7 separate regions of the Homo sapiens genome follow, and regions 1, 2, 3, 5, 6 and 7 are each linked to region 4. The links are contacts of gene promoters, found by promoter capture Hi-C in blood cells and fetal thymus (Javierre and others, 2016). All regions are on one chromosome and are shown on one strand. The core of a region is centred on a gene start or on the middle of the fragment in contact, and the rest is flanking DNA. Distances in the headings are between cores, read along the strand shown.

Evidence for each region. Contacts are between HindIII fragments. The CHiCAGO score rates a contact against its expected background, and 5 or more counts as called.
Region 1: a fragment that was not itself captured here is called in contact with the fragment with the promoter of CNEP1R1 in region 4 in 6 of 17 cell types (total CD8 T cells, naive CD4 T cells, naive CD8 T cells and 3 more); the score reaches 10.1 in total CD8 T cells.
Region 2: a contact is called between a fragment that was not itself captured here and the fragment with the promoter of CNEP1R1 in region 4, in 9 of 17 cell types (naive CD4 T cells, total B cells, naive B cells and 6 more). The highest score is 11.8, in naive CD4 T cells.
Region 3: a contact is called between a fragment that was not itself captured here and the fragment with the promoter of CNEP1R1 in region 4, in 7 of 17 cell types (naive CD4 T cells, non-activated CD4 T cells, total CD4 T cells and 4 more). The highest score is 8.1, in naive CD4 T cells.
Region 5: a fragment that was not itself captured here is called in contact with the fragment with the promoter of CNEP1R1 in region 4 in 11 of 17 cell types (naive CD8 T cells, naive CD4 T cells, total CD8 T cells and 8 more); the score reaches 20.2 in naive CD8 T cells.
Region 6: a fragment that was not itself captured here is called in contact with the fragment with the promoter of CNEP1R1 in region 4 in 1 of 17 cell types (total CD4 T cells); the score reaches 6.6 in total CD4 T cells.
Region 7: a contact is called between a fragment that was not itself captured here and the fragment with the promoter of CNEP1R1 in region 4, in 11 of 17 cell types (total B cells, total CD8 T cells, naive CD8 T cells and 8 more). The highest score is 15.4, in total B cells.

Annotation. Positions count from the first base shown.
Region 1 is chr16:50,764,261-50,767,634 of GRCh38, forward strand. All of the region lies in intron 5 of CYLD (CYLD lysine 63 deubiquitinase), which reads left to right. Among named protein-coding and RNA genes, the nearest start is that of CYLD-AS1, 23 kb to the left of the region's middle. The HindIII fragment of the contact is 556 bases long and covers 1,325-1,880 here.
Region 2 is chr16:50,780,286-50,783,800 of GRCh38, forward strand. It overlaps CYLD (CYLD lysine 63 deubiquitinase), which reads left to right. Exons shown (of 19, transcript NM_001378743.1): 10 at 961-1,126; 11 at 2,040-2,181. Among named protein-coding and RNA genes, the nearest start is that of CYLD-AS2, 21 kb to the right of the region's middle. The HindIII fragment of the contact is 1,122 bases long and covers 1,245-2,366 here.
Region 3 is chr16:50,833,903-50,837,152 of GRCh38, forward strand. No RefSeq gene overlaps it. Among named protein-coding and RNA genes, the nearest start is that of LINC02128, 4.5 kb to the right of the region's middle. RefSeq lists an enhancer at 1,879-3,250. The HindIII fragment of the contact is 1,380 bases long and covers 904-2,283 here.
Region 4 is chr16:50,023,820-50,027,217 of GRCh38, forward strand. CNEP1R1 (CTD nuclear envelope phosphatase 1 regulatory subunit 1) reads left to right here and starts at 1,406. Exons shown (of 6, transcript NM_001281789.2): 1 at 1,406-1,521; 2 at 2,577-2,648. The coding sequence starts at 1,497. RefSeq lists an enhancer at 1,095-1,596 and a silencer at 1,410-1,719. The HindIII fragment of the contact is 11,127 bases long and covers 1-2,324 here.
Region 5 is chr16:50,805,578-50,809,205 of GRCh38, forward strand. It overlaps LINC02168 (long intergenic non-protein coding RNA 2168), which reads left to right and starts at 1,095. Exons shown (of 2, transcript NR_146573.1): 1 at 1,095-1,230; 2 at 1,841-2,052. RefSeq lists an enhancer at 3,565-3,628. The HindIII fragment of the contact is 6,211 bases long and covers 1-3,628 here.
Region 6 is chr16:50,873,218-50,876,584 of GRCh38, forward strand. The region is part of intron 1 of LINC02128 (long intergenic non-protein coding RNA 2128); the gene reads left to right. Among named protein-coding and RNA genes, the nearest start is that of LINC02128, 35 kb to the left of the region's middle. The HindIII fragment of the contact is 3,284 bases long and covers 1-2,950 here.
Region 7 is chr16:50,746,009-50,749,488 of GRCh38, forward strand. The region is part of intron 2 of CYLD (CYLD lysine 63 deubiquitinase); the gene reads left to right. Among named protein-coding and RNA genes, the nearest start is that of CYLD-AS1, 5.0 kb to the left of the region's middle. The HindIII fragment of the contact is 2,275 bases long and covers 767-3,041 here.

The DNA.
Region 1 (3,374 bases), core at 353-2,852, 740 kb after region 4:
TGTGAGATTAGAATTACCTATTCCTTGACTATTTGACAAAGCTTCTTTTTGTGGAAATGTTTAGCTACTGATGAAATATCCTTTAACATTTGTTTGTTTTTGATTGTCTTTTGCAAGTTTTATTTTTTATGAATGTATCCATTTAATTCATTTTCAAAGCTTTGGGCATAATGTTGTTTATAAAAGCCTCTTAATTTTCTGTTCAACCTCAGCAGCATCTGCCCTTGTGTTCCTATTTTCATCCAAAATGTTAATCATTTGTGCTTTCTTATATTCTTCACCAATCTTACCAGTGGTTTCTGACTTTCATTTTTTCAAAGGACCAACTTTTGGCTTTCTTAATTCTTTCTAGATATACTTGTTATTGTTTAAAATATGCTACTATTTTTACTGTGTAACTAGTGCATTTTTTAGGTCTAAGCCCGTAGTTCTCAGCCTGGGATGCTTTTGTCTCCTGGGGACATTTGGCAGTGTCTGGAGATTTTTGATTGCCACATCTGAGGTGAGAGTACTACTGGCCTCTAATGCATGGAGACCAGTGATGCTTCTAAACTTCCTACAGTGCACAGGGCAGCCCTACACAACACAGAATTATCTGGTTCAGAACCTTAGTAGAACTGAGCTTGAGACACTGTGTCCTAAGCAAATTCTAGGAGTTATGCTCATTTTATAATGTTAACTTGCTGGATAGCTATGGGGGAATCACTTGAAAAACAAATTTTCTTTCATTATTTATGTATTCTTGCAGGGATAACCAATTCTATGCTAATATTGTTTTTCCCAGAGTAACATGGCTAAATGTAATTTCACTTGTCTTACGAAATCAAATACAGGCATACCTAATTTTATAGCGCTTTTCTTTATTGTGCTTCACAGATATGTGTTTTTTATTAATTGAAGGTTTGTGGCAATTCTGCTTTGGGCAAGTCTGTCAATGCCATTTTTCCAATAGCATGTGCACACTTCGTGTCTCTGTGTCACATTTTGGTAATTCCTGCAATATTTCAAACTTTTTCATTATTATTATATCTGTTATGGTGATCTGTAATCAATGATCTTTGAGGTGACTATTGAAATTGTTTTAAGGCACCACAAACCACACCCATATAAGATGACAAACTCCACTGATAAATGTTGTGTGTATTCTGACTGCTCCACTGACTAGTGGGGCCTCTGTCTCTCTCACTCCTTGGGCCTCCCTATTTCCTGATACCCAAAAATATTAAAATTAGGCCAAGTCATAATCCTACAATGGCCTCTAAGTGTTCCAGTGAAAGAGAGAGTTGCATATCTCTCACTTTAAATCAAAAGCTAGAAATGATTAAGCTTAGTGAGGAAGGTATGTTGAAAACCGAGAGAGACTGAAAACTAGGCCTCTTGTGCCAAAGTTAGCTAAGTTGTGAATGCAAAGGAATATTTCCTGAAGGAAATTAAAAGTGCTACTTTAGTGAACACATGAATGATAAAAAAGCAAAACAGCCTTATTGCTGATATGGAGAAAGGTTTAGTTATCTGGATAGAAGATCAAACCAGCACATTCCCTTAAGCCAAAGCCTAATCCAGAGCAAGGCCCTAACTCTCTTCAATTCTGAAAGGCTGAGAGAGGTAAGAAAGCTGCAGAAGAAAAGTTGGAAGCTCGCACAGGTTGGTTCATAAACTTTAAGGAAAGATGTCATCACCATAACAGAAAAGTGCAAGATGAAGCAGCAAGTGCTGATATAGAAACTGCTGCAAGTTATCAGAAGATCTAGCTAAGTTAATTGATGAAAGTGGCTACATTAAATAAAAGATTTTCAGTGTAGGCAAAACAGCCTTCTATTGGAAGAAGATACCATCTAAGACTTTCATAGCTGAGATGAGTAGTCAATGCCTGGCTTCAAAGCTTCAAAGGATAGGCTGACTCTTTTGTTAGGGGTTAATGCAGTTGGTGACTTTAAGTTGAAGCCAGGATTCTGAAAATCCCAAAATCCTTAAGAATTATGCTAAATCTACTCTGCCTGTGCTCTATAAATGGAACAACAAAGACTGGATGACAACACATGTGTTTATAGCATGCTTAACTGAATATTTTAAGTCTACTGTTGAGACCTACTGCTCAGAAAAAGGATTCCTTTCAAAACATTACTGTTCATTGATGATGCAACTGGTCACTCAAAAGCTTTGATGGAGATGCACAAGGAGATTAATGTTGTTTTCATGCTTGCTAGCACAATAACTGTTCTGCAGCATATGGATCAAGGAGTAATTTCTATTTGCAAGTTTTATTTAAGAAATACATTCTGTAAGGCTGCCATAGATCAGGATTCCTCTGACAGACTGGGCAAAGTCAATTGAAAACTGTCTGAAAAGGATTCACCATTCTAGATGCCATCAAGAACATTCATGATTTATGGGAGGAGGTCAAAATATCAACATTAACAGGAGTTTGGGAGAAGTTGATTCCAACCCTCATGGATGACTTTGAGGGACTGAAGATTTCAGTGGAAAAAATAACTGTAGATGTGGTGGAAGTAGCAAAAGAGCTAGAACTAGAGGTGGAGCCTGAAAATGTACTTGACTGAATTGCTATAATCTCATGATCAAACTTGAGCGGATGAAGAAAGGAAAAGTGGTTCATTGAGATGACATCAACTCCTGGTGAGGATATTGTGAACATCGTTGAGATGACAACAAAGGATTTAGAATATTCCATAAACTTAGTAAAGAAGCAGCAGGGCTTGGGAGAGGATTAACTCCAGTTTTGAAAGAACTTCTATTGTGAGTAAAATGCTATCAAGCAGTATCACATGCTACAGAGAAATCTTTTATGAAAGAAAGAGCCAACTTCATTGTTGTCTTATTTTAGGAAATTGCCACGGTCACTCCAACTTTCAGCAACCATCACCGTGATCAGTCAGCACCCATCCACACTGAGGCAAGAGCCTCCACCAGCAAAAAGACTATGACTCCTTGAAGGCTCAGATAATCATTAACATTTTTTAGCAATGAAATATTTTTAAAATTAAGGTATATACATTATTTTCAATAACATAATGGTATTGCACACGTAATGGACTACAGTATAGTGTAAACATAGCTTTCATATGCACTGGGAAACAAAAACACTTGTGTGACTTGCTTTATTGTGATATTTGCTTTATTGTGGTGGTCTGGAACAGAACCTACAATATCTCCAGGGTGTGCCTGTGTGGGTTTGTGGGTTTCAATTTTTTTTTTTTTTAATTTCCATAGAGTACTTTTGAAAGCTCAAAAAATAATTAAAAAAAAAAGCATTTTAGATTGAAAGTAACCGTTCTCTTTACCTACCTTAATTGCATTTCTTTGAATTTTACATTTTACAACTGAATGCAATTCATTATACTGAATAAGTTAGG
Region 2 (3,515 bases), core at 556-3,055, 760 kb after region 4:
AGGCTCCTTATATTAAACAGAATTTAGTAAATCAAGCAAATTTGCCATCAGCTTTTCTCTTTCTTCTTCAGCCCCTTCCCCTGGTCAGTTCTAATAATTATATCACTGGCTTTAAAGTTAATCACCATTTTTAGAGATCTTTTGAGACCTTTGCTAGAGGGAAAGGTTTTCCCTTTAGAGATCAGGAGAACATATCATTTGATATTTTGTAATCAGGAAAGGAGAAGTTGAGTATGTTTAGGATTTATTTAGAGATGGGGTCTCACTCTGTCACCCAGACTGGAGTGCAGTAGCACGGTCAGGGCTCACTGCAGCCTCGACCTCCTGGGCTCAAGCTATTCTCCTGCCTCAGTCACCTGAGTAGCTGGAATTACAGACATGTACCATCATGCTTGGTAATTTTTTGTATTTTTAGTAGAGACAGGGTTTTGCCATGTTGCCCAGGCTGGTCTCAAACTCCTGGACTCAAGTGATCTGCCCGCCTTGGCCTCCTAAAGTGCTAGGATTATGGGCATGAGCCACCACACCTGGCCAATTTAAATATATTTCTTTTTTTTTTTTTCTTGTTTGTTTCCATGCTAGTGAATACTATCTTATGGGGCATGGTGGGGAGGCAAGAATGAGGGTTAAAATAAATAGCCTTCTCCTTCCCTGCCTGTTTTAATGCTTGTAGAAATGGTGCGGGAAAGCCCGTTTAACCAGGGGAGGTTGAAGCATATATTCTGAAAGGAAATACAAGAAGGACTTCATGCTGGATTAAGGAAGTCACTTCTTAAATCAGTAGCTGTGGGCTGAAGCACTGATTACTCAACTCCTTTTTCTTGATGAGGTTCTCAGTACAGGTGCGAAGAGGGAGTGGTGAGAAAGGGTATACTAGAAACAGGTCTTAGAAACCTTAGTTCTTTGTATACTATCTCTGTAAGGCACGGTATAATGCATATTGAAGCATTTCTTTTTCAGGAAGATGAGTGTGCAGGCTGTACGGATGGAACCTTCAGAGGCACTCGGTATTTCACCTGTGCCCTGAAGAAGGCGCTGTTTGTGAAACTGAAGAGCTGCAGGCCTGACTCTAGGTTTGCATCATTGCAGCCGGTTTCCAATCAGATTGAGCGCTGTAACTCTTTAGGTATTTGGATGCTTTTTGTTTACTTAACAACCTGGAATGACTCTAATTCTAATCTCATATCATGTTATATTAGGTGATGGTGACAGTGTTTTAATATATTTCTTGCCAACGCTCATTAAGCTTTAAATCAGTAAAAATGTTGCATGGTGTATAAGAAAGTTGTTTTAAGAGGGGACATCTTAAAAAAGTATTAGGACGTGCGTTTGGGACTTATAAAGTGAATAATAGTGTGGTTTGTTTTTCTCTTCCTGTTGATGACAGACATTTAGTTTTCAGCAATACTAGTGGTAGAAATTGAAATGTAACCTTCTTTTTTTTTTTTACTGACTTCCCTCACAGTGTCTTGTTTACAGCAGTGAGTGTATCTTACAAAGAAATCAGCATTTTAGTGTAAGAAGTAGATTTCAACTGATTGCTGGAGGACAGCTCTCCTCATCATGTGTAATTGGTGGCAGTTTCCTGGTGCTGTTCCTTTCCACTTCTACATAATAGTGGAAAAGCATCTTGGGGCTTCAGCAGGTGCAAACAGGAAAGCCATCTTTATGAAAAACACTCTTATTATGTTGAAATAGTACTTTGGAATTTTCATTTTCTTTTCAAACTTGAAAGTGAAGCAACTTCAGATAAATAGTGAAATATTTGGGAAACATATTTTACTTGACAGATGCTTTTTACACATAATACTCTAAAGTGTGTTTTTAAATCTTGGAGGAAATGAAGTTGAAAATGAACAATAGCAATTTTTATAAGCCAAGTCAAATAGCAGTTAACCAAAGCCTACTTTCCACTTAAAGAAAAAATTTTGCATCAAAATACAAAAACATTTTAAAATGAAAAAATATTTATGGGAATACATATTGTAATAGTTTAAAAGAATTCTTTTCATTTACTTTTTTTAAAAAAATCTTTTCAGCATTTGGAGGCTACTTAAGTGAAGTAGTAGAAGAAAATACTCCACCAAAAATGGAAAAAGAAGGCTTGGAGATAATGATTGGGAAGAAGAAAGGCATCCAGGGTCATTACAATTCTTGTTACTTAGACTCAACCTTATTCTGGTAAGTTTAAAAAGAATGCAATAGGTATAGATAGTGCCATGAGGCAGGGACACATACCGGTGTGTGTGTGTGTGTGCGTGTGAGTGTGTGTGAAAGAAACTGCCATCTGCCTCTGAGTAGAGAAACTGGATGACTGTGGGTCAGGATTGAAAGGGAGATTTGCTTTTTATGACATACTCCTTTTAAGCTTTTGAATGTTGTCTCATGTTTCTGTGTCCAGAAAGGTGAATGATATTGGTACAATGGAATAGATATACAGAGGGTATCTGGGAAATCTTTGTGCATGTCTCAAACAACATAACTTGCAGTAAAGCCATTGGCTGTTATGTGCTGTATTTCTTTTAGTAGGTAAAGGCAGTCATAAAACTACTGTCTTTAAAAAAACGATTTTCAGTAGCAGCACTGCTGCCCTCATATATGCAATTTTTTCCAAAGTGGAACAACTTAAGATTTTTTTTTTTTTTTTTTTTTTTTTTGAGACAGAGTCTCACTCTGTCCCCCAGGCTGGAATGCAGCGGCACAATCTGGGCTCATTGCAACCTCTGCCTCCCAGGTTCAAGCGATTCTCTTGACTCAGCCTCCTGAGTAGCTGGGATTACAGGTGTGAACCACCACTTCTGGCTAACTTTCTTTTTTGTATTTTCAGTAGAGACGGGGGTTTCACCACGTTGGCCAGGCTGGTCTCGAACGTCTCACCTCAAATGATCTACCCGCCTTGGCCTCCCAAAGTGCTTGGGATTACGGGCATGAGCCACCACGCCCAGCCTTAACATTGCAAGGATCTTTAAGCTCTGGAAATTGAACCAAGAATCTTTAGGCTCTGAGGATTGTAGACTGGGCTAAATTGAGAGTAGCCTGCCAGTTCTGTAGCCATATGATAAGAATTAGGAAGTTAATATGGGATGTTAACATTTTTAAAGTAGGAAGAAGAATAAAGTGGCGGCCATTTTATTTGCAGAATACTTTGACAAAAACAAACCTTGTAGCATTGATATAATATTCTTTAGATTTCCTGATAAAAATCTATATTAGCTAAATTTTCTTTTTCTTTGATAACAGCAAGTTACTGCTGTCACTCGTTTATTTTTTTGAGAAGGAGTCTCGCTGTGTCGCCCAGGCTGGAATGCAGTGACGTGATCTCGGCTCACTGGAACCTCCACCTCCCGGGTTCAAGCGATTCTCCTATCTCAGCCTCCCAAGTAGCTGGGACTTCAGGTGCACTCCATCATGCCTGGCTAATTTTTGTATTTTTAGTAGAGACGGGGTTTCACCATATTGGTCAGGCTGGTCTCAAACTCCTGACCTCAGGTGATTCACCCGTCTCGGCCTCCCAA
Region 3 (3,250 bases), core at 344-2,843, 810 kb after region 4:
GCTGCAGTCTCCTGTTTGGGTATGGGGGTGGGTGTCGGCTCCATTGGTTCCAATGAAAACCAATTCTGAACACAGTTATTTTGCTAATTTCTCTGCCAATCGCTCCACCCCCTCCTCTTTGTATTTGTTTACTCTGAACCCAAGTACCCTGGATCTTCTCTTACTTCCTCAGTAGCTCTGGCCATAGTGGTTGGCTGTGGTTTCCGCCAATCCTGCCAACCCAGTCCCATCTGCTTTCCATCTTCCAGGAATTGCAGACAAGTTCTTGTTTTTCCACATGTGGTTATAGATTCATTTTGTCTTTTAAATATGGCTTTTCTTTTGAGGAATTGGGGCAGGAGGACAGGTAGCTGGCTAGGCCTGTGTTGTCCTCCTGAGTCTATCATCTTGTGTACTCATTTTTCTTAAGTCAGGAGAGTCTTAGCCATGTTTCCATGGTGATGTGGTGGCCAGTAGGGGAAAAGGGAGGTTGAAGATGCAGAGAAGAGGTGACAATGGCTGCAGCGAAGTCCCTGGGAGAACATGAGGACTTGAAGTTCAGGTGGTGGGCTAGCTTAGGACAGGCAGGACAGGTCAAGAGCAGGCATAGGTGTAGGTGTGTTCCCAGGTTTGGTGGCAGGAAATGAACTGTGCTTCCATTTGTTCCTTCTGTGTTCCCTGTGAGATGGAACTTGAGGTTGTCATAGGCAGAAGGAGAGAGTTGAAGAGTAGAGCCAAGGAGCTCTAGAGAGGGGAGGATGTTTGAGATCACCCCTGTGAAGAGTGTGACAGAGAGCCACTTACGGACACAGAGGCTTCCTGGGTCACCCTGAGGCCACCCCTAGGATCAGATGCCCAGCCCAGAGAGGCTGCCCTGGCCAGTCCGGAAATACTCTTAGAAGAGTGCTGGTTGGGATGTGGAGAAGCTTGACAAGGTTCTGATTAACCTTTTCTACTGGGGATTCTCTTCACAAGGCCCAAGTGGACCAGAACTCAGCGGGCTGGGTTCAAGTCCTCATGGGGCCGCTTAGCAGCTGTGGGATGCTGGGAAGCCATGGCCCTCTCTAAGCCTCTTGTTCTCTCCTTTACTGAGGCAGTGGGGGCATTGACCTCATGGGGCAGCTATGAATAATTTACTGTGAACAACACTGGGACATGGCAGGGGGAGAATGTTGAAAAATTTGGTGGGGGCATTGTTATGAACTGGGCGGGGATACTTACGCCCTTATCATTTATTTTTACGTATCGAAAAACATTACTCGTAAAATCTAGAAAGAGAGTGATTGAGATGGGTAATACCATCACCCTCTGGCTAAGCTATGAAGCTGCCTCTTTTTTCCACCACACTTTGGGGGCCCTTTCCCCCAGTGCCTTGGTGTCCCCTCAATGCCAGCACATCCAATTTCTCTTCCGTCCTCTGCTCACAGATATGGATCTGGTATCAGTCATCTACATCTTAGGGGCAGTTTCTTAGACACTTGGGGGTCTGGAGGGGACACAGAAGCTCTTACTACTGATATTGCAAACCACTCTCCCATCCCCAAGCATCCAGTTTTGACATGGAAACCTCTTGAGGCCAGGTTGTTTTGCAAGGTAAGCCCAGAACACTCAAGCCCAAGCAGAAGACCACGCTCCTTTGAAACTGCATTTCTGCCATTTGGTTGTGGGATTGTTCAGGGGTGGTGTTTGAGATTGGGCGCCTTCTCCCTGCAGGCTCACCAGGCAACCACGGATTCCACTTGCCCCTGAATTAGATGGGTTGCTGGGGGTGCCCAGGCTTATCCCTGTGTGCCCACCTTGACAGGTAAGCTGTGACAGGGCCTCTCTGCTTTGGGCATAACTAACTTTATCCATAGAAGTTCTCAAGCATTGCTGGCTGTATCTGTACCTCACTCCTAGAAAGCAGGAGCTGCTCAAATACAAGTTGGTGTAATCACAGGGAAAGCCGAGCTTTGGCCGGCACGATCTGAAGTTTCTGCTGCCTGGGCCGTCAGCTCAGAGCCGGTGCTGTTTGTCAGCACCAAGCTCAACCACTGAGTGGGACTTTCTGGAGCATCCCAAGAGAAAAGTGAGACTTCAGTAGAGGACACAGAAACCTGTGCCCAGTGGGGGCAATCGGGAAACTTCAATGTGTGACTCGTTCTTTTCCAAAATTCCTCTTTTCCCCTTATTTAATTTTTTTTTCAGAAAAACGTGTGATTTTATATGCTTTTCTCTGCATGTATTAAACAAATTGCACAGCTGAATAGCTTTTCTTAAAACCTGGACATTCACCAAAAAGAAGTTTGCCAGCACAGACAATTAAGCTTTCTTCTTTGAACAATGGAGTGACTGACTGGCACATTTGAAATGCAAGCGTGTTTTTTTATTCCACTGTTCATCCTTCAAGCTGATAAACAGCAACAATGGGAAACAGCTGGGACAGGAAAACATTTGAGTTTGTATTTTCAAAGCAAGCAAGAAAGAAACCCGTCAGTGTGGGCCAGATCCCGTCTTCCGCCTGAGGGCGAGCCGGCATTTGGGGAGGGAAAAAAATACTATACATATTTCTAATCAAACATTACATATTTATTAATGTGCAGCTGGTGCATTGTATTCCGAGGGTTGGTGGTGGGAGTGTCTCTCCCCCCACCCCCACGCCACCCGCCTTGTTCCTCTAATGTGTCTTGCCTGGCAGGCTGGTATTGTTCTGTAACTGACATTACTTTATAAGAATCAGAGCTGCGCACATTTAATAGGAGTTATGGAGACAATTGCTCTCTGAGCGGTTGGGGTCTCTGTGACGTAGGTGCCATCTGAGCCTCAGTTTCTGTTCTGGGAGTGGACAGAATGGGCAATGGAGGTATTTTTAGGCAGATGTACCTGAGATACTGTTGATGGGGAAGCCCCCAGCACCTTCACTGCCACCCCTACACCACAGCCTGGGTCCCATCCATGAAGGCCATGGCTCCTGCCCACATGTCTGTGCTCTCTCTAAACGTGGGAACAAATTTATTTTGATGCTTATTGAGATTAAACTTGCTGCGCATTTCATCGGGAACAGGGGTTGGATCTGTTCATTAGGTGGGGAGGCTCACCTTGTCAATTTCCATTGAGCACTGGCAAAAGCGACCACTTTATCATCATTTGTCAGCAGCCTCGACAGGTTTTACTCAGCTCTGATTCCTCCTGGGCCCTGCTGTCATAACTTCATTGGCTTTATGGTAGCAGCTGAGTTCCCTTAGGTAATTGTCTAATAGATCTATTTTGCCTTAATATTGGTAATTCACTA
Region 4 (3,398 bases), core at 156-2,655:
GGTCTCTTATCAGGAGAAAGTTACTGAAATCAGTCTCTTGTCTAATGAAAGCAGGAGTTATGGCTTGTGGAACAAAGGGATCAGTTAGTCAGTGACTGGTACTTGGTAAGCTGCAATTGTTTTAATATTGCTTGTTTAGCTGCTAGAGGAAAAAAACGAACATTGTGGCAGTTAGAACATCGTTTATTCTTTAAGTGTCTGGGTCTTGAGTGATTTAACCCTTGCCTGGCAGGGCCTTAGGTCTTGTTTATAAGTTGGTATGTTACTGCCACAAAAAAATCTAGCCCATCAGTCTTAGATTCTTTTTTTTTTCTTTTTCTTTTTTGACAGTCTCACGCTGTCACCCAGGCTGGAGTGCAGTGGCTCACTGCAACCTCCGTCTCCTGGGTTCAAGTGACTCTCGTGCCTCAGCCTCCCAAAGAGCTGGGATTACAGGCATGCACCACCACGTCTGGATAATTTTTTTGTATTTTCAGTAGAAACAGGGTTTTGTCATGTTGCCCAGGCTGGTCTCAACTCCTGACCTCAAGTGATCCACGCGCCTCAGCCTCCCAGAGTGTTGGGATTAACAGGCGTGAGCCACCGCGCCCGGCCAGGATCTCTATTTTAACACAACTATTCTTATTTGAAATCAATTACTTATTTGCATGTTTGTTGCCTGCTGTAGCCCTTCCTCTTTGCGGGCAGGAATCCTGTCTACCTGGCTCACACGCGTATCAATACAGTGTCTAGCATGTTAGGCAATAAAATGATTTTGAATGAAAGAATGCCACCAATAAATGAACAAGAAGGCCTTGTGATCAAATACAAATGTAGTCAATCCCTTACAGATCTCTTCTTAAGTTATAGGTATTTGGGCTTACACTTTGCCTCATTTAGGAATTATGAAAGCTGGGTGATGTGAGAGGAAAGTAACCAAGAGAGAAGTGTTTACTTAAGGGGTTGGTTATCTAGGATACCATAATTAAGGAAACTGGTTATTTAGGGTTCTAGTTAGTTCTGTACAGATTTCATTACTCCTTGAGATCCTTGAGGACAGAACCAGCTCTTTGATTTCTGTATCCCTCGCTAGCGACCAGAATAATGCCTGGAAGGTAGTGGGCGCTCAATCAACATTTGACGAATGAAAGAACCAAGCGGGGAACGGGGGATAAATGAATGAACGAACTGGCTCCGGAGGGCTGCAGTTCCTCCCCGGGGCAGCAGGCGACGCCAGCGTTACGCCCGCCTGGCCGCCGGCAGTTCTTGGTCCCTCCGGCTGACCGTCCAACGCTAGGCGCCGAGGCCGGTGCAAGAGACAGCCAATAGAAAGCTGTCTTAGTTGGAGGTCTAGTAGAGGAATCCAATGAGCGTAGCGGGTCTAGGCAAGGGGCGGTGCGACGGGGAGGGGCAGCGGGGAGCGGTTAGAGGTGGGAGTTGGCGCTGCGGGCCGGGCGGGGGCCGCGGAAGCTGCGATGCGGACAGGGCAGCGGCGGTGACCCGAGCTGCCGCCCGACATGAACTCGCTGGAGCAGGCGGAAGGTAGGGTGGGCCGCCCGGGCCCGTCCCCCGTCTCCCCTCGGAAGCTGGCGGTGCTCCGGAGGAGCCGGCGTCGTGAAGACCCCCGCCCCGGGAGGAGGCCGCAGAGGATGGAGCTAGGGGCCCGGAGCTTGGGGGCGCGTAGGCGGCCGTACCTGGCCAGACGCGGGGGGCGGTGCCTCAGCTCCCTGAGTCCCCACAAACCTAGAGGGTCGACCTCCTCGCCAGCTTCTATTTTTATTTTCTTTTCACTGGCAGACACTTGCACTTCGTGCATTGCAGCCTGCTAATTCATTTCATTTCATTCTCACAGCCCCGCGAGTTGTATCCCTGATTCCTGCGGTGGTTTCCGGTAACTGCCAAGGTTAGGAAGTGCTGCTCGGTGTTTTAAAGTTTAAAGCACACCACTGCGGAAAGGATACCCCACCACTCACTCGGAGCAGCTTAGACGCCCCTGTCTTCTAGAACTAGGCGCTGCCTGGGTGCCACGAAGATCACCTGTACCCCTTCGGAGGGGGCAAGGGGAATGTCTTTCCACACCCACTCGCTATCAGTGTCAAGAAGTCTAGTAAGGCCAGACGGCGTAGCCATTAATTAAATATAAGAGCTGGAAACCGGAGGCGGGTAATTGCAGTCAGGTAGACCTCGAAGACTTTGATGTTAGGCACTACGTGGTTCTAATAGGAAGTTCTTGGTTCCCAGAGAGCTAAAACTCGACCTGATTTTAATTTTATTTGCAACCCTGAAAATGTTCGCTTTTGGCGCTGGCCGAGGCTGCTGCTTATTTCTCCCAATACCATTTATGAAGCTTCTAAAAGTAAATCAGCAAGTTTTCTTATATGAGAAATTGGAATTAAAGAGCCCTAATTTTTTGTCAAGTGCTTAAAAAGCTGTCATAGTAAATGAAATAAACAGTGCAGTGATACATGGAAGTTAGTGTGTAAGACCTGAAGCAGTTAAGAGTATCTCACATGTCGTCTTAATGTTAGGTAAATACTCTGACATTTCGTCAGACGAGTAAGAGTGGCTAATTAGAAAATTGACATCTTTATACCTAGATCTCAAGGCTTTTGAGAGGAGACTTACTGAATATATTCATTGTTTGCAACCTGCTACTGGACGCTGGAGAAGTAAGTTCCTGAATGTTATTTTAAGGGAAAACTAACAATTGATACTTTTATCCTAATATAGGAATGATTTGCTTTTATGTAAAATGTTTGTTTAAATTTATTTAACATTGTAGACAATGCCTTATGAAGAAATTTTTAAGAAAAGGAAATTATAACTGGCCTTCTCAAAAGAACAGTCTATTTCGTGTGGTTGTTTTTGTTTTTCCATTAAAAAACATATTTTTTGGCCAGGCGCCGTAGCTCACGCCTGTAATCCCAGCACTTTAGGAAGCCCAGGCAGGCGGATCACCTAAGGTCAGAAGTTCAAGACTAGCGTGGCCAACACGGTGAAACGCCGTCTCTACTAAAAATACGAAATTAGCCGGTCGTGGTGACGCTGCCTGTGATCCCAGCTACTCAGGAGGCTGAGGTGGGAGAATCGCTTGAACCCGGGAGGCGGGGATTGCAGTGAGCCGAGATTGCGCCATTGCACTCCAGCCTGGGCGACAAGAGTAAAACCCGGTCTCAATAAATAAATAATAAAAATATTTAAATTTTTGAATTATTACAGTTTTGATAAAGACATACCTAATAAAAATTTCAGTAGCCCGTTTAGCAGTTTTATAATTTGCCTACAAACTATTGGAATAAAATTTTAGTAAGAAGAGTCATATTAATAGGGCTCAGTGAGTCACGCATATAATCCCAGCACTTTGGGAGGCCGAGGCTGGAGTATTGCTTGAGCATGGGAGTTTGAGACCAGCCTGGGTA
Region 5 (3,628 bases), core at 182-2,681, 780 kb after region 4:
TCCAAGAACTGACTCGCAAAATTCCTGAAAATTTAATAATGGGCTCTTGTGAGCCATGGATGCCAGCTCCAGTTTACTTCTGCCATCATCTCAAACACACCTACAGGCACATATAGACTCCTGTGCGCTTCATTTTCTCCACAGCACTGATCCCCTGGCTGCATGGCTTATCGTGGGCTCCTCAGGACCTCCCCTAGTCCCTTTAATTGTCTTTCCTTACCACCTTGATCAGTGCCTGGCACAAACCTCCCGCCTCAGCCTCCTCAGTAGTTGGGACTGCAGGTGCACACCACCATGCCCAGCTGGCTTTTTACATTTTTGTAGAGAGGGGGCTCTCGCTATGTTGTCCAGGCTGTTTCAGCCTTTTATTCGTGGAAGCCCCACTGTCTATTGTCAGTGTGCTCAGAATTAGATTACTGTCCCCATTTCTTTTGAGAAAGCACAAGACGTCTCAGTCTCTAGTTCCCCAAATAATGCTTCCTCTCAGAAGTGGAGACATCGTAGGACTCCCCTGCTAGGGCTTTGATGAACTTTGAATGAAACCATGCACGGAAAGTGCTTATCACAGTGCCTGGCACTCCGTAGCCCCTGAGTAAACAGCAGCCACCAGTGGCAGCAGCAGCAGCATTAGTACTAATATCGTAAACATGAACTTGAGAGACAGGGTGCAAGTCTAATCAGCAGTTCTCTTTCTGCCTCTCATCTCCCTCCACGATCCTATTTTAAGCCACACTCTTTATCCTTTAGATGGTTTTATGAGATTGAGATTTTTCTCAGGCATCTTGTCCCTGAGTGCAGCAGCGCCATCTTGTGGTCATTACTGGTTATGGCGCTGTCCTAGATCTAAGCTCCCAAACTCCGAGCCGCAGCCAGAACCCAGGCTTGGGAGGCAGCAGGGATTTTGAAAGCCAATGTGGCAGTCGGGCCAACACACCAGATTACACACTACACCCTAAGAGGGTTTAAGTTTCCTCTGCGTCATTTCGGGACAGCTGCTTAGTGTTGACCATTTCTGTTTGTGGCTGTCCTCTCTCATAATGGGCTCTGTCTTGCCCTTTCTCTGCATCTGCTGCTCCCTCTGTCTTGAGCTTTCAGGCACCGTCTACAAACGGGGTTTAAAATGAGCTAGCGCCATCTACTGGGCGAATGCCGTAAGGTCGGTTGTGAGGTCCCGGAATCTGCAAAGGAATGAATGAATTACAAATCTGTGGCTTTATGGGGGGAATGTCGGTACGTAATAGGATTCTGATGTCACCTCCCTTTATTTGCGACCCTTTCTCAGTGTAAGCCTCATATCTACTGTGTTAACTTTAGTACAGGTTACTTTGTCAGGATCCCAATGTGAAAATCAACCACACTGTCTTCAGTGCTTCCCAGAGAGGGGTCTTTGGACCAACCTGCGTCGTAGTCATCCAGGGACATTTAAGAATGCAGGCTCCGGCTGGGCGTGGTGGCTCTCACCTGTAATTCCAGCGCTTTGAGAGGCTGAGGCGGGCAGGGCTTGAGGCCAGGACTTTAAGACCAGCCTGGGCAACACAGCAAGACCTTGTCTCTACAAAAATACAATAATAACAATAAAAATTAGACAGGTGTAATGATGCACTTCTGTAGTCCTAGCTACTTGGGAGGCTGAGGCTTGAGGATCACTTGAGCCCAGGAGTTGGAGGCTGTAGTGAGCTATGATCACACCACTGCACTTCACCCTGGGCGACAGAGCAAGACTCTGTCTCTAAAAAAGAGAATTTGGTCTTGGAGGCCCTGTGCAAAATCTACAGCATCAAGCTCTCAGGGTAGGGCCCTGGAATGTGCATTTTGAACACTTCCCCCTTTTCCCACCAAGAGAATCGGGCACACGCTGAAGTGTGAGAACCACTGCCATTATGGAGAAGAGGCTTCCCGCCCCCTCACCTGCCACTCTAGAAATCCAGAGAAGAGATTCCACTTGGATTAAGACTTGCATAAGTGGGGAGTTGAGTCCAGTCTCTTTCCCCCACTGCAATACCCTGTTGCGGTGACATGTAATAATAATAAAAAGACTTGCATGAACTCCTTTCTGTGCAAATGAGAGCAAGCATCTCTGACAAAACCACAGTGCCCCTGTCGCTCATTTTGTGTGTGGTTTCAGTGATAACAGACCCAAAGTCCTGGGACCAGCATCTGGCACACCATGGGGGCTCAAATGGGTCACTACTGCTGCTGTTACCTGTGTGAGGCCGGCTGGAGGCCTCCTCAGCATTCCTCACCCCCTCCCATCCACCTCTGCTTGGGAGGTGGGGGAAAATGGTTTATACTTTCATATCAAGGCTCGGCCTGCCACCTCGGGCCCTTCTCCCAGAGCAGGGCTCACTTCAAGCAAAGCACACAGCCATGTTGGAAAGATTCCAGTACTGAGGTCACCCCCTTCCTGGGTGGCACCTCTCTGAGCCTCAGTTTTCCCATTCCTAATACAGAGAATTGTATTAGAGTCTGTGCTGTCCCTTCCAGCTCTGACGTTCAGGGTGGCTCAGTGCTTTGGAAGCCCCTTCCCCATGTGGCACTTCCATGGTGTCTGGGTCTGGTGTGTGCAGAGACCCCCCCCCTCAGAATGCTGATTTCTCTTGCTTTGGTTCTTTCTCTGCCTGCTACCCCTAACCCATTTTGCACAAATTGTGAGCCATGTAGGTGCCCGATACACGAGTGCTTGGTTTTCAAAAGCCTTCATATTGTGCATACCTCATCCCCAGCAATTCTGTTGCTGGGAAATTTTTCTAAGGCAATCATGATCGCAGATGTGCCCAAGATTAGCCATCAGACTCCGAGCAGCACTGTTTATAATGCTGGCCAAACCTGAAAAAGTTAAATGTGCAGGACTGTAATAAATTATGGTACAGCTAGACTATACCATAACCATTAACCATGTGCAGTCATTAATGATTCTTCTGGAATGTAATTTTTTTAAGGACATGAGCAAAAATTCACACTATATTAGGTGAAAAAAGTGGATTATTAAAAACTTATGTATGATAATAGATCTAATTTTGTGTATACAAAAATTTGTGGCTGGGCATGATGGTTCATGCCTGTAATCCCAGCACTTTGGGAGGCTGAGGTGGGCGGATCACCTGGGGTCAGGAGTTTGAGACCAGCCTGACCAATATGGTGAAACCCCATCTCTACTAAAAATAAAAAAATTAGCCGGGCTGTGGTGGCATGCCGGTAATCCCAGCTACTCAGGAGGCTGAGGCAGGAGAATTGCTTGAATGCAGAAGGCAGATGTTGCAGTGAGCCGAGATCGCGCCACTGGACTCCAGCCTGGGTGGTGACAGAGGGAGACCCTGTCTCAAAAAAAAAAAAAAAAAAAAAAATATTGTGCATGTACTGAAAAATTTGCTTGCAGGGAATACATTGATTCCTGAGATGACAGTGACTGCGGATGACTTTCATGTTTGTGTTTTTCTCTTGTCGGTATTATCTAAATTAAAATCCGTGGTTGACTGAATGGCAGGATGTGCAGGGAGGGTTGTCAGGAAGGGGCCATTTATCAGAAGGAGAGAACAGACACCAGAAAGGGCATGGGCTGTCAATCAAATACCGTTGAGGTGTTTGGGAGTGTGGAGTGGTCACCTCTGAGGCCATTTGCATGATAAAG
Region 6 (3,367 bases), core at 59-2,558, 850 kb after region 4:
TTTACTTAATCTCTTTTTAATTCCTTTATTTCCCAGTAAGGTCAGTAACAATTCCCTTATTTTCATTCCTGTGATTTCTTCTTTGATTCATGGGTTATTCAGAAGTGTGTTGTACAATTTCCAAATGTTTGGGGATTATTAAAGTATCTTATTGTTATTGATTGCTAAATTAATTTCATTGTTGTCAGAGATTATACTCTGTAAAATTTCAATCATTTGAAATTGATTGGATTTATTTTCTGGCCAAATATATAGTCTATTTTGGTAACTGTGTCATGTGCACCCACAAAAGATGTTTATTATGCAGTTGTTGGGTGTAATGTTTTCATGAATTTCTAGTAAATCAAATTGGTTGATATTATTTTTCACATACTCTTATATTTTGTCTAACTAGTATGAGAAGCATTTTATAATAAGTTACTATGATTGTGGATTTGTCTATTTTTTCCTAGTTATGTCAGCTTTTGTTTCATGTATTTTAAAATTTATTTTTAGGCTTATAGGCATTTATAATTGTCATATCTTTCTAATGAATTCCCCTTTTGTAATTATGAAATGTGCTCACTTATTTCTAGAAATACTCTGTCTTAAAGTCTATTTTTCTGATAATATAGCTACAGCAGCTTTCTTATGTTTATTGTTTGCGTAGTATATCTTTTTTCTCTTTCCTTTTAATTGTTGTCTTAATATTTAAAATATTTCTTTTGTAGGAATAGAGTTGGTCTTGTTTGTGTGATTCAGAATGACAACAGCTGCCTTTTAACTGGAGTGTTTAAAGCATTTACACTTAATGTAATTATTGCTATGACTGGGTTTAAACCTATGATCTTATATTTGTTTTCTATTTCACTGACTTTTTACTTCTGCCTTCCCTGTCTGCTTCATTTTGGGCATACAGCATACTTTTATATTCTATGTCGTTTTATTTTATTTATTCTCTTTTTAGCTCTATCTCTTTCTATTTTTAGCTATCCTCCTCATCATAGCCTACTTAGAATTAATACTCTATAAATTCACTTAAAATTTAAGTGAAATTTTAACTTTAATTTTAATTTTAACTACGACTTCACTTTAAATTTAAGTGAAACCCTGTAACACTACAATTCCATTTATCTTTAATGTTCTTTCTGTTTTCACATATACTATTTCTATATATGTTGTAATTCCACAAAACAATGCTATTATTTTTGTTTTAAATAGTCAGTTGTCTGTTACAAAACTGAAGAGAGGAAAAGATAATCATTTATGCTTAGCCACTTATTTATTATTTCCAGTGCTCTTTATTTTTTCCTCAATAACTGAATTTCCATCTGATTTAATTACCCCCAAGCCTAAATTACTTTTGAAAGCATTTGTGTTTGTGTTTGTGTGTGTGTGTGTGTGTGTTTGTGTGTGTGTTGAAAGTCTGTTGACAAGGAATTCTCTCAGCTTTTGTTTATCTGCAAATGTCTATTTCACCCTTATTTTGAGCAACATTTTTGCTAGATATACAATTCTGAATACATATATATATATGTGTGTGTGTGTGTGTGTGTATATATATATTTCTTTCACCATCTTAAAATATGTCCTTTAAAAACATTTATTGTATTTACTCTTGGGGTCTGCTGAGATCTTGGATCTTTCAGCTGATGCTTTTCATGAAATTTGGGAAATAATCTTTTAAACATTTTTCCTGTCCTATTCTCTCTCATCACTCTGGGACCCCAATAGCATGTGTCTAACTATTCAGTAAACTATTTAATATTATCCCACAGGTGATGGGGCTCTGTTAATTTTTTAAGTGTTTTCTTTCTGTTCTTCAAATTGGATATTTTCACTGATCTAGCCTCAAGTTCATTGGCTTTTTCTACAATATCTAATATGATTCTAAATATTCACTAATTTTAGTGAATATTTCATTTCATTATATTATGTTTCTTAGTTCTAGAATTTCATTTTGTTCCTTTGTAGTTTGTATTTGAGTCCTTATTTTTCATTCATCATGTCCATGTTTTTGTTTAAATTGTTAAACATATTTATAATAGCTGTTTTCAAGTCCTTGGATGTTAATTCCAACTTCTGAACCTCTCAAGGTTGTCTGTTTTTTTGTTGATTTTGGGTCACTTTTGCCTACATTTTTGCATGTGTAGTAATTTTTATTGTGTTCTGAATATTCTGAATTTTGTTGTCATCCTTTAAATGATGTTGATTTTGTTATGGAAGGCAGTTGAACTACTGGTGGAGTCTTTTGATTCTGTTGGACTGAATTTTATTTTTTGTTAGAGTACATCTATTTAGGTTTTGTCCTTAGTGTTAGGACATGGTTCTTTCTCTAAGATGTGGTCCTTACCTTTTATGCATAGACTTTCTGATTTCTCAGCTGAATGGCTGAGGTGCTCAGTGAGGGTTTCTTCATTCTGGCTGGGCCAGAACCCCCTACACTTTGTAGCCTCTGGTATCACCATTCAGCGCTCAGCCTTCAGCAGCAGCTGTCAACTAGGCTTGCAGAGGCTCACTGTGTATATCCATAGCACATCTATTGGTCAAGGATCTTCAGGGAGTGTGTCCCAAAAGAAACTTCAGGGTCTTATTGTTAACACATCCCCCCATACTCTAATGTCCTGGCTTGAAAACCCGGAGTCATTCAGGCTGGTGAAATGCCCAAGGGAAGAACTTGGGAAAGGGAAAAGTCTTCTACAGAGTGCTTCCTACCACTTTCCAGCTATGTGAACAGGACAACTTGCCTAATTTCCCCATGACTCAGTTTAATCACTTGCAAAATGAGGATAATAGTAGTACCCAACTGATAGGGTCATATTGAAAGCTAAATGAGATAATACACGTGTGATGCTTAGAACAGGGTCTAGCACATAGTAGGTGCTGTCTAGGAATTATCTGCTATTTTTCTTCCTGGCTCTGCAGAGCTTGTCTGTAGCTCATGCAAGTAGTGGCAGCATTTGAAAGATGAAGCTTCATGGTAAGAGAAGCTCATTCTGTATCCTTGTGCTGAGCAGCATTAGAAGCTTTCTGGGGCATTTATAGGCTAGGAAGTTGTCTTAGTTCATTTGTGCTGTTATTACAGAATACATAAGACAGTGTTTTGCCCAGCATACCCAAGAGAATGCTGGATTTGTGCACAATTGTAACAAAAATTGCCATTTACTGGGCATTTGACATGGGCCAGGAACCTTGCTGACGACTTCTGTGCATTACCTCCAGTCCTTAAAGCATTTCTGTAGGTGGCTTTCATGAGCCTGTGTGGGTGTGTGTGTGTGCACGTGTGCGTGCGTGTGTGTGTTGCTATTTAATCTTTTCATTTCCAGCATACAGTTCCCTGTTAATTCCTTTGGGCAAAGAGCATTTAGCTGACTTCTTCTGATTTTTA
Region 7 (3,480 bases), core at 654-3,153, 720 kb after region 4:
AATAAATATATATATATAATGGAGTGTGTATATATGTGAGAGAGTGTGTGACAGGGTCTTGCTTTTTCACCCAGGCTGAAGTGCGGTGGCGTGATCATGGCTTGCTGCAGTCCCTCCCTCCAGGGCTCAAGCCATCCTCCCACCTCAGCCTCACAAGTAGCTGGGACTACAGGCACATGCCATCACACCTGGCTAACTTTTGTACTTTTTGTAGAAATGAGGTTTCACTGTGTTGCACAGGCTGGTCTCAAACTCCTGGGCTCAAGCTGTCCACTCACCTTGGCTTCCCAAAGTGTTGGGATTACAGGCGTGAGTCACTGTGCCTGGCCGAGAATATTAGTGATCATTCAGTTGATTGCCTTGTATATCTCTAGACTCGAGCCGTAAAGTTTCCCATTCAACTTTCTCTATCAGTTGCAGTGAAGAGAATCAATTTTTAATAAGAGAGTTTCAAACTTGTTCTTAATATATTCTTTCTGAAAGAGGAAAGGCTGTATCCTTTATTTTTGGATAATGCTTTTGAAATATTTGATAACTTGTGCTTGACTATTTTAGTTGTCTAACATGACCCATCCTATTGCTAAGTCTAAGCTCATTTCCACTTGTGCTAATGAAAGTTAGGAAAAAAGTTACCACTCCTTGTAGAGTTCACTTTAAAATATGGTACTTGAAAGCTATAGTTTATTACCCTAAAACATTTTTATAAACCTAGCAGTTATATCAATTTTTACTGTGGATTCTCTTCCTTAAATTATTTCAGAAAGCAAGCTTATAATCAAATTTATTTAACATAATGTCCTAATGCACATATAGTAATTTAGTTTTGTCTTAATAATAGATTATTAGCATTAATGATTTTTATTTTAAATTGTGACATGAATAGTTAAGCTACAGGACCAATAGAGTAGGAGCTGTTGGTATAAAGCAATTATTAAGATTCAGGGAAGTTTCTGATTGTAATATTTGAAGACATTGTTCTTAGGAATTTTAAAAAAGAATTTCTTTTCAAAATAGAATTACTTTACCTTTTTCAAAAAAATTTTGGCCCTAAAAATCTAAATACATTTTAAAGAGAACCAAAACAACAGCTCGTTTTTTTGAAAGTTGCTTTTTGACTGTCTTAACCTTCTGCTAGTGACCAGACTCTCTATTCAATAAAGCCTATGTGCCCTTTGCTCCTAAAGACCCTTTCAGAATGTATGCATTCCTCTTTTCACGATTGTTGCTTTGTGTTTTCAAACACACAAACATATTTCACTACCTGGCTTCTCAGAACTGATTCGAAGCGATAAGTTGGAAAGCAACAAGGCCGTAAAAGGAGTCAAATGCATACAGCAGGAAACCACAGAAAATGGCTGATTGCAAGGGAAAACTCTAGACAGTAGATCTGTAGAAAGCATTCGCGACCTCAGGAAGCATAAGATACAGCCTTTTAACAAAATAACAGCCTTGCAGATCAAGAGTTATGCAAAATAATTTACAGTCATAATGATACATCAATGATCAAGAAAAAAATAAGGACATTTTCTTGTGGAAAGTGTTGACATGTTAAAAGCATTTTGGTCAAAAAGAACCAACACTTCAGTTTGGTCCTTTAAAGGAATCCAACCAAATTGAGGGGTTGGATAGCTGTTTGGGCAGCCCTTATAAGGAGTTTTGTTTATATTGTGTCAAGATAGAGGTTTCCACAGGTGTCTTATATAAGTGGCAAATATAAATTGATCCCATTCTTGCTGAAGTAGACAGTGCCCTCAAGTGGAATTAAAACAAACACACCACAAAAAAGAAGAAAAGAGAACCACTTCATGCTACCTCTGCTTTTACCCTCACTGAGTGTTACACAGATATTTCAGTCATGTTGGTTTGAAGGAGGTGCCTAACCTGTATCCTGTCTTGGCTAAACCACATGTCTCATGCTGGCTTGTAGAGGGAGAGACTTTTAGGAACGTTACCATTATGGAATACTTCATTATCTAGCAGTGCTTTCTAAAAGAAGTGTTCCACTGTGTATAGATTTGCCAGGTTGTTTGATCATTAAGTGATTAAATCTAAAATTTGGTTCTTTAGGAGTATTTATTTTTTAATTGCTAGAATAAAATAAATATGATAGTGCTATCAATTGCAGCCATTACCCAGAATAATGGAAATGGATACCTCTATCTCAAGGAAGGATGAAATGAAAGTACTGTCTTTGGAAACCAGATAGCCACATTCTTATGACAGGGATACCTAGGAAGTATTGTTTTCAGCAGAAAATTAATTAAAATAATGAAGTAAAGTCTCAGTTTAAATTAATGAAATTGTGTAGTTTTTTAACCATCAGTTAAAATAGGTTTGAGAATGAGCCTACTTCATTGGAAAGATTATTATTCTTGTAAAAATTTTAAATGAGGACCAGGTGCAGTTGCTCATGCCTGTAATCCTAGAACCTTGGAAGGCCAAGGTGGGAGGATCATTTGAGTCCAGGAGTTTGAAACTGCAGTGAGCTATGATCGCACCAATGTACCCAAGCCTGGGTGACAGAGCGAGACCCTGTCTTAAAAATAAATAAATAAAATAAAAATAAATGAAAATTTGAAAAAGAAATAATAGAAAGAAATTATAATGCAGTTATATCATGATATTCCCTTGCTATGTAGTACAAGTTTTGATGCTACAAAATTGATTTTTAAAATATTTTTAATATAGTCATATTATAATATCTGATATTTGCGATTTGAGAAATCAGATAACTATGATTAATGTGATGAACATTGCCCATCTTCAGAAAAAATATATGAAATGAAGTTGAGTCAGAGGTAAAATGTTCCATTATCACAATATGGCCATATCATAGCTATCATTTATAGGCATGAGCCACACAGCTCAGCCCGAAACGCTACTTTTAAAAGTTTATTAGTGTCAGAATATGGGACAGGCCTGGTGGCTTACGACTGTAATCCCAGTGCGTTGGGAGGCCAAGACAGGAGGATTGTTTGAGCCCAGGAGTTCAAGACCAGCTTAGGCAACATAGTGAGACCCTGTCTCTACAAAAAATAGAAAGCTTAGCTGTGTGTGGTGATATGCGTCTATAATACCAGTTACTCGGGAGGCTGAGGTAGGAGGATCACTTGAGCCTGGAAGGTCTTGGCCACAGTGAACTGTGATTGTGCCACTGCAGTCCAGCATGGGCAACAAGAGTGAGACCCTGTCTCAAAACAAATAAATAAAAATAAATTAAAAAAAGTTAGAATATGTATATAAGGGTAATCTTTAAAAGTTTTTACTAGAATCTGATTTTATAAATTTCAGTGTCTTGGAAGCAAACATTGTGTTGTCTTTGAAAGTACTTTACAATTGGATTTCATTAATTAAATATGCACAGTTACAGTAGATAAAAGTAATACAGTATGTATGTCTTTTAGCCCTTTTAGATATTTTTTGAAAATATTTCATTTGTGTGTATGTGTTTACTGGTCAAATGAAAATTTTAAAAGTCTT